2 separate regions of the Homo sapiens genome follow, and region 1 is linked to region 2. The links are contacts of gene promoters, found by promoter capture Hi-C in human tissues and cell types (Jung and others, 2019). All regions are on one chromosome and are shown on one strand. Each heading gives the region's core, a stretch centred on a gene start or on the middle of the fragment in contact. The rest is flanking DNA. Distances are from core to core; before and after follow the strand shown. Region 1 holds the start of CHERP (calcium homeostasis endoplasmic reticulum protein). Region 2 overlaps TMEM38A (transmembrane protein 38A).

The links. The method cuts DNA at HindIII sites, captures the fragments that hold promoters and counts their contacts. A contact is called where the count stands out against the background at its distance.
Region 1: the fragment with the promoter of CHERP here is called in contact with a fragment that was not itself captured in region 2 in 1 of the 25 tissues and cell types used here (spleen).

The regions. Positions count from the first base shown.
Region 1 is chr19:16,539,807-16,544,045 of GRCh38, reverse strand. CHERP (calcium homeostasis endoplasmic reticulum protein) reads left to right here and starts at 1,609. Exons shown (of 17, transcript NM_006387.6): 1 at 1,609-1,692; 2 at 2,003-2,176. The coding sequence starts at 1,668. It also overlaps the pseudogene RN7SL146P. RefSeq lists silencers at 1,708-1,897, 1,908-1,977. The HindIII fragment of the contact is 9,580 bases long and covers 1-4,239 here.
Region 2 is chr19:16,675,740-16,680,291 of GRCh38, reverse strand. It overlaps TMEM38A (transmembrane protein 38A), which reads right to left. Exons shown (of 6, transcript NM_024074.4): 2 at 152-308. Among named protein-coding and RNA genes, the nearest start is that of TMEM38A, 17 kb to the right of the region's middle. RefSeq lists an enhancer at 235-735. The HindIII fragment of the contact is 4,607 bases long and covers 354-4,552 here.

The DNA of each region.
Region 1 (4,239 bases), core at 360-2,859, 140 kb after region 2:
AAATTTTATGAACTTTTCTTTCTGGTTATAGAAATACCTAAATAAGGCTGGGTAGGGTGGCTCACACCTGTAATCCCAGCAGTCTGGGAGGCCAAGGCAGGCAGATCATGTGAGGTCAGGAGTTCAAGACCAGCATGGCCAACCTGGTGAAACCCCATCTCTACTAAAAATGCAAAAATTAGCCGGGCGTGGTGGTGCGCACCTGTAGTCCCAGCTCCCCTGGAGGCTGAGGCAGGAGAATTGCTTGAGCACGGGAGGCAGAGGTTGCAGTGAACCGAGATCACACCACTGCACTCCAGCTTGGGCGAGAGAGAGCAAGACTGTGTCTCAAAAAAAAAAAAAAACCAAACAATTAAGATCCTCGATCTTCATGAGAAAATATGAACTAGAGGACATTTAGAAAAAAAAAAATCCTTGATCTTGCCTCCTGACCTGCAGAGTCTAAAATATTTGCTTTCTGTCCCTTTTATACAAAAAGTTTTGTTGATTCCTAGCCTACAGCAACACTTGATGTAGAGTTGTCAATCCATAAGCATCTGGTGGAAAAATGCTGTTAACAATAAAAATGAAACTAATCTAAAATACATGTGCATTTATTTGCACAGAAAAAAACAGGCTGGGTAAAGTAGCTCATGCCTATAATCCTAGCACTTTGGGAGGCCGAGGCGGGAGGATTACTTGAGCACAGGAGTTCAGGGCTAGTGAGCTATGATCATGACACTGCACTCCAGCGTGGGCCACAGAGCAAGACCTTGTCTCAAGAAAAAAGAAAAAAAAAAACGGATAAAGGAAAAAAAAGCGGCGGGGGCGGGGGGCAGGTATAGCCAACTAAGCATTAACCATCTCAAGAGGATCAGTTTATATCGGACGTCCACAGCAGAAATTTGCTGCTTCTGGCTATCTTTTCCCCACAATTAGCAAGGGTTAGCTTCATTATTTTAGAGGCAACCCAACTGCAGCTTTTAGAAAGGCGCTGTGCCCTCTAGGCCAGCAATTTGAGGGCATGGGTTGGGGGGTACCCCGCCCCAGTCTTCCTGACCAAAGAGTGGAGCGGAAGAAAGCCAGGAGGAGGATGTTTTGAACCTAAATACGTCCAGCTGCAATCCCAGTCAAGCTCGTCGCCCCCAGTTCTGCTCCACCTCCGGTCTGGCCGGGGAGAATGTGACAGTCGCCGCAGCCCGGGATCCACCCGGACGCACCTCACCTCGCAGTCTCCTCACTGTGCCCGCGAAAGGAAAGAGACCCTGGCCCAGGCACGAAGTCCCCAGGCCCCTGGTCGCCCGGAGGTAGCAACCAGCCAGCCCATCGGGCTGCGACGCCGACCAAGGGGCACGCCCCGCGCCCCCCGGTCTCGACTAACACCCACCCGCGCCGTTCCAGCCTTTCCGCGGCGCCGCGCGACGGGGACCCACTCTGCGAAAGTGTCAGGAAACTTCTGCGCGTGCGCGTCGCTAGCCCCTCCCGCGCGCCAGGCATCGCGCGGCTTCTTCCCGCCTGCCTCCCGCTCTCACTTCCGGAGTTTCCCAGCGACGGCCGTAAGTGGCGGGCGGAAGCGGCCCTAGAAGCCCGCCGTAAACGGCTCCCTCGCGCCACTTCCGGCCGGCTTCCGCAGACGGCGCTGGTGGTCGATCGTGTGGCGCCGGAGGACGTTCCCCGCGGCCGGAGCCATGGAGATGCCGCTGCCCCCCGATGGTGAGACCCAAACCGGCCGAGAGACCGTTTCTCTCTCCCCGGAACCTCCTATTGGCCGGCCCCGCCTCCCGGAGTCCCCGGGTCTGGGAGGGGGCGGGGCTCGGCCTCGCGGCTTCGCCTGCGGCCTCTCCCGTGGGTCCCCGCATTCCCGGCGAGCGTGTGGCCCCTATCGGGACCCGTACAAGGGCGGCCTCTTCGGGGCCCACCCCCTTGGGGTCCCCGGCAAGGCGGACGGGGGCTGGGGCGCCGAGTCCCCCGGCTTTGGGCGGTCCTCGCTGACGCCCCGCGTGGCCTTTTCTCCGTCCTCCAGACCAGGAGCTTCGAAATGTCATCGACAAGCTCGCCCAGTTCGTGGCTCGCAATGGGCCCGAGTTTGAGAAGATGACTATGGAGAAGCAGAAGGACAACCCCAAATTCTCGTTTCTTTTCGGAGGCGAATTCTACAGTTACTACAAGTGCAAGCTGGCGCTGGAGCAGCAGCAGCGTGAGTCCCCTCCGGCACTCAGGCCGTCCCATCGAGCGCTTCCTTTCTCGGATTCCAGTCCGGGCTCTGCCACAAACCTCTTTCTTTCGGGTCGTTTATTCTTTGAAGTGGAGCAGCTCGGTCCACACGATCCCTGTTCCGCTGTTCCCACGGCCCTGCACAGAGCGGCTGCTGGGTGCCACTGTAATGGAGAACAACGAGGTTTTCGATCCTCCCCCCTGGGCTCTGGATCAGGGATTTTGCTGTTGTTTTGCAGACTGATGACGGAGATTAGCAGGAGTAGCGTGATTGTTTTAGTGTTTTCTAGGGAGGAAGTGATAGAGGCCGGATGGGAGTCCATGGGACAGGCACTGTCCAGCCCCCTTTGCCGTCTCCCTGTGGGTCCAGCAAGGTTTTGTGCATTTCAGATGCCTGCAGCAGAAATCAAAAAGAATTATCCCTCTGAGTTTTAGTTATTGGCAAGTGTTTATCAATGTTCGTTCATTTAGGCAACAGGATTCCAGTCCTGCTCTAAAGAAGTTTAAAGTTAGGAAGCAGAGCTGGCCTTTGAATAATGGATAGTCACCAGGTGGTGCGGCTGCTCAGGGCAGGTATCACATCTGTCACGTTCAGTACCCAACCCCGTCTCTAGATTGTTTAAATGAATAACTAGGAGTTTGCCAGGTAGATGGACATTGAGAGGTGGTTGTCCGCTGTTTGATCGAACGCCAATTGTGTGTTATGTATTAAGGTACAATGACCCAAACAAGGTCTGTTTGGCTTCGGCGAGCGTGTAGTTCAGGGGACTACACGCTCGTCTTGTATTAAGGTACAAGGTCATTGTCCCTTAATACATAACACACAGTTGGTGTTCGATTAAACAGCTTGAAAGGAGGCCTGTTGCAGTGGCTCATACTGTAATCACAGCACTTTGGGAGTCCAAGGCGGGCAGATCACTTGAGGTTAGGAGTCTGAGACCAGCCTGGCCAACATAGTGAAACCCTGTTTCTACGAAAAATACAAAAATTAGCCGGGTGTGGTGGCCCGCGCCTGTAGTCCCAGCTACTTGGGAGGCTGAGGCGGGAGAATCGCTTGAACCCGGGAGGTGGAGGTTGCGGTAAGCCAAGACCACGCCATTGCACTGCAGTCTGAGTGACAGAGTAAGACTCCATCTCAAAAAAAAAAAAGAAAGAAAGAAAAAGAAAAGGCTTGAAAGGAGGCCAGGCGTAGTGGCTGACGCCTGTAATCCCAGCACTTTGGGAGGCTGAAGCGGGCAGATCACTTGAGGTTAGGAGTCTGAGAACAGCCTGGCTAACATAGTGAAACCCTATCTCTACTAAAATTACAAAACTTAGTCAGGTGTGGTGGCACACACCTGTAGTCCCAGCTACTGGAGAGGCTGAGGCAGAAGAATCGCTTGAACCTGGGAGCTGGAGGTTGCATTGAGCCGAGACCACACCATTGCGCTCCAGCCTGGGTGACAGAATGAGACTCCATCTAAAAAAAAAAAGCAGCTTGAAAGGAGGCCAGGCCCAGTGGCTTGTGCCTGTAATCCCAGCACTTTAGGAGGCTGAGTCAGGCGGATCACTTGAGGTCAGGAGTTCGAGACCAGCCTGGCCAACATGGTGAAACCCCATCTCTACTAAAAATACAAAAAAAATTAGCCAGGCATGGTGGTGGGCACCTGTAGTCCCAGCTACCCGGGAGGCTGAGGCAGGAGAATCGCTTGAACCTGGGAGGTGGAGGTTGCAGTGAGCCAAGATCGTGCCACTGCACTCTAGCCTGGGAGACAGCGAAACTCCATCTAACAACAACAACAACAAAAACTTGAAAGGCTGAGAGAGTAGAACATTGCAAAGGGGCAGTTTCTTGAACAAGAAACAGAGAGAGAGTTTATGTGTGTATTGCCAGGCACAGTGGCACACACCGTACCCCCAGCTACTCAAGAGGCTGAGGCTGGAGGGTTGCTTGAGCCCGGGAGTTCAGGGCTGTAGTGCGCTGTGTCGATTGAGTGTGTGCAGTAAGTTCAGTGTCAGTATGGTGACCCCCTGGGAGCTGGGGACCACTCGACTGTCTAAGGGGTG
Region 2 (4,552 bases), core at 1,408-3,907:
GACCAGAGATGGGCATGGAGGGCAGCATATTCAGGGCCATCATGAGGGCTGTTGCTGGTGCATTCTAATTCCTCCAACCTCTCTCCTCCCTGGTGCCCAGGTTGTTGTTTCCCCCACCCGGCTCTGCTCTCCCATGCCCAGCATGGCTTACCAGACAGCTGAGGCCAGCAGGATGCTGGAGTTGTTGCTGAAGTAATCGATCAGTGGCTCCCCAAGGAGCAGATCAGCCAGGATGTAGCTCCCGAAGCAATGCAGCATGGCGCACAGCCAGGACGCGATGGGGTGGCGCCGGGACAGTTCGACTGCTCCTGGGAGGCACAGGAGTGTCCCCCATCATCACCAGCATGCCAAGGGCAGGCTTCACTCCCATATGCTCTGGTCAGCCTATCCTAATCCAGAGCGCCCACCCAACACTGTGCAGTTTGTAAGTTTCAGAGGAGGAACCAAGGTTCAGAGAGGCTGTACGCATGCCTGAGGTTGCACAGAGAAAATAGAGAGCCGAGTGGGAGTCCTTTCCTTCATGCCCAGAGAGGTGGCAATGATGATGACACTAGTTCACATTTAGGACTTAATAAATCCTCATCAGTGTCCCAGCCAAGTGATGGCTTTTATTATCAGGAGTCTCATTGTCAAGAGGAGACTGAGGCTTGGTGAGACGGGCCAGCTTGTACCTGGGAGTACTTTGAAATTGCTACTCTGGGCCGGGCATGGTGGCTCACACCTGTAATCCCAGCACTTTGGGAGTCCAAGGTGGACAAATCACTTGAGGTCAGGAGTTCAAGACCAGCCTGGCTAACATGGTGAAACCCCGTCCCTAAAAATACAAAAATTAGCCGGGAACGGTAGTGCATGCCTGTAATCCCAGCTACTCAGGAGGCTGACAGGAGAATCACTTGAACTCAGGAGGTGGAGGCTGCAGTGAGCTGAGATTGCACCACTGCACTGCACTCCAGCCTGGGCAACAGAGCAAGACTCCATCTAAAACACACACATACACACACACACACACACACACACACACACACACACACACACACACGAAACAAAAGAAATTGCTATTCTGACCTCAGCTGATCCCAAGATCCCTATGAGCTTATGCTGGTATTCTTTTTTTTTTTTTTTTTTAACTTTTTTTGTTTGTTTCAAACAGAGTGTCACTCTGTCACCCAGGCTGGAGTGCAATGGTGCAATCTCAGCTCATTGCAAATTCTGCCTCCCAGGTTCAAGCGATCCTCCTGCCTCAGACTCCCGAGTAGCTGGGATCACAGGCAGCCACCACCATGCCTGGCTAATTTTTGTATTTTCAGTAGAGAAGGGGTTTCACCATGTTGGCCAAGCTGGTCTCCAACTCTTGGACTCAAGTGAACCTCCCACCTCAGCCTCCCAAAGTGCTGGGATTACAGGCATGAGTCACCGTGCCCAGCCTTATGCTGGTATTCTTACACCTGCTGTCTTAAAAAGAATTTTTTTTTGTAAAATATACATTAAATTTATCACTTTACTTTTTTTTTTTTTTTTTTTTTTTGGACACAGGGTTTCACTCCCATCACCCAGCCTGGAGCGCAGTGGTGCAATCACGACTCACTGCAGCCTTGACTTCCTGGGCTCAAACACTCCTCCCACCTCAGCCTCGAAAGTATTTGGGACTACAGGCACGCGCGCCACCATGCCAGGCTAATTTTTTGTATATTTAAAGTAGGCACGGGGTTTCGCCATGTTGCCCAGGCTGGTCTCAAACTCCTGGGCTCAAGCCATCCACCTGGCTCAGCTTCCCAAAGAGTTGGGATTATAGACGTGAGACACCATGCCCAGCCCATTTTAAACATTTTTAAGTGTATAGCTCTTTTTTTTTTTTTTTTTTTTTGAGACAGAGTCTCACTCTGTCACCAGGCTGGAGCGCGGTGGCGCGATCTCGGCTCACTGCAACCTCCTCCTCCCGGGTTCAAGTGATTCTCCTGCCTCAGCCACCCGAGTAGCTGGGATTACAGGCATGCGCCACCACGCCCAACTAATTTTTGTATTTTTAGTGGAGATGGGGGTTCACCATGTTGGCCAGGATAGTCTCAATCTCTTGACCTTGTGATCTGCCCACCTTGGCCTCCCAAAGTGCTGGGATTACAGGCATGAGCCACTGCCAAGTGGCTGGCCAAGTGTGTGGTTCTATGGCATTATATTCACATTGTTTTGCCATAATCACCACCAACCATCTCCAAAACTCTTTCATCTTCCCAAACTGAAACCTATTAAACACTCACTCCTCATCCCCCATCGCCTAGCCCCTGGCACCATTCTACTTTCTGTCTCTATGAAATTGATGACTTTAGGAATCTCATGTAAGCGAAACCATACAAACTTTGTTGTTTTGTGTGGCTTATTGAGCATAATGTCCTCAAGCTTCATCCCCATTGTAGCATGTATTAAGCTTTTATTTCCGGGCTGGGCACGGTGGCTCACACTTGTAATCCCAACACTCTGGGAGGCTGAGCCACGTAGATCACTTGAGCCTGGGTGTTCGAGACCAACATGGGCAACATAGTGAGACCCCACCTCTGCAAAAAATTTTAAAAATTAGCTGGGCGTGGTGGCATGCTTCTGTAGTCCCAGCTACTCGGGAAGCTGAGGTAGGAAGATCACTTGAGCTGGTGAGGTGGAGGCTGCAGTGAGTCATGAGCATGCCACTGCACTCCAGAGCAAGACCCTGTTGAGAGGGGAGGGGAAGGGAGGGAAGGGGAGGGGAGGCCAGCCTGGGCAACACAGTGAGACCCCATCTCTACAAAAAATTTTTTCTAATTAGCTGGGCATGGTGGCATGCACCTGTAGTCCCAGCTACTCAAGAGGTTGAGTTGGGAGGATCACTTGAACCCAAGAGTTTGAGGCTGCAGTAAGCCATGAGTGCACCACTGCACTCCAGCCTGGGTGACAGAATGAGACTCTGTCTCAAAAATAATAAATATATAAAGTCTGTAGTTGAGTTAATGATAGTGTACCCATGCCAATTTCCTGGTTTTAATAATGCACTATCATTACATAAGATGTCATTGGAGGAAGCTGGGTAAAGGGTATTTGCAAATTCTCTGTACCATTTTTGCAACTTCTTGTGAGTCATAAACTCTTCCAAGATAAGAAGTATTTTAAAATTCCATATTAAAAAGAAGGGGGCTTGAAAACCCCATTGCTGAGTCCTTAGGTCCTATAGCTGGGCTTTTTTTTTTTTTTTCTTTTTAAAAAAAGGGCTGGGCACGGTGGCTCATGCCTGTAATCCCAGCACTTTGGGAGGGCGAGGTGGGTGGATCACCTGAGGTCAGGAGTTCAAGACCAGCCTGGCCAACATGGTGAAACCTCATCTCTACTAAAAATACAAAAATTAGCCAGGCGTGGTGGTGGGCGCCTTTAATCTCAGCTACTCGGGAGGCTGAGTCAAGAGAATTGCTGGAACCTAGGAGGCAGAGGTTGCAGTGAGCTGAGATCGTGCCATTGCCCTCCAGCCCAGGCCAACAACAGCGAGACTACCTCTCAAAAAAAAAAAAAAAAAAAAAGGTCATGAAAATGCAACACTCGGGGTACAGTATTAATGTCTATTCACTAAATCCTTGCATCTTGTATTACTCATGTAAAGCCTTTATAATCTTTATAAATAGTTCTATCCTTATGTTGTATCTTCGTAATCTTCTAAGGCCACACCTTGGAGTTAGAACTTGTGTCTCCTGGTATGACCACTTCTTTCATCATATTGATTCTGTCTTTCCCAACTAGTTTCGTTTTGCAGAGAACAACTTTATGATCAAGTTGTAAGGTACAGCTACTCTGTACATTACATGACCAGAGCCAAAACCAACGATTCCCCTAATACAACTTATTCTAATGAAATGAAAACTACAGTCAGTATTGACATGAGATAACAAGGTCACAAAATGTAATCTCTCTCTTTTTTTGTTTGAGATGGAGTCTCGCTCTGTCCCGCAGGCTGGAGTGCAGTGGCGCAATCTCAGATCACTGCAAGCTCCGCCTCACAGGTTCATGCCATTCTCCTGCCTCAGCCTCCCTAGTAGCTGGGACTACAGGCACCCGCCAGCACGCCCAATTTTTTGTAATTTTAGTAGAGACGGGGTTTCACTGTGTTAGCCAAGATGGTCTCAATCTCCTGACCTCGTGATCCGCCTGCCTCGGCCTCACAAAGTGCTGGGATTACAGGTGTGAGCCACCGCGCCCGGCCAAAATGTGATCTCTTATTAGTCAAATCAAAAGACTAAGCAAAAGAAATAATCAGTTTTGTCTATTTTTAGCAGGGAAGAGAAAGAGTGTCTGTTGTGGACAGAATGTTTCTGTCTCTCCAAAATTCGTATGTTGAAATCCTACCCCTCCCCGCTTGTGATAGCATTAGGAGGTCGGGCCTTTGGGAGGTGATTATGTCACCAGGGTAGACCCCTCACGAACGGGGTTAGAGCCTTTATAAATGGTGGCTCACGCCTGTCATCCCAGCACTTTGGGAGGCTGAGGCGGGCAGATGACAAGGTCAGGAGTTCGAGACCAGCCTGGCCAATATGGTGAAACC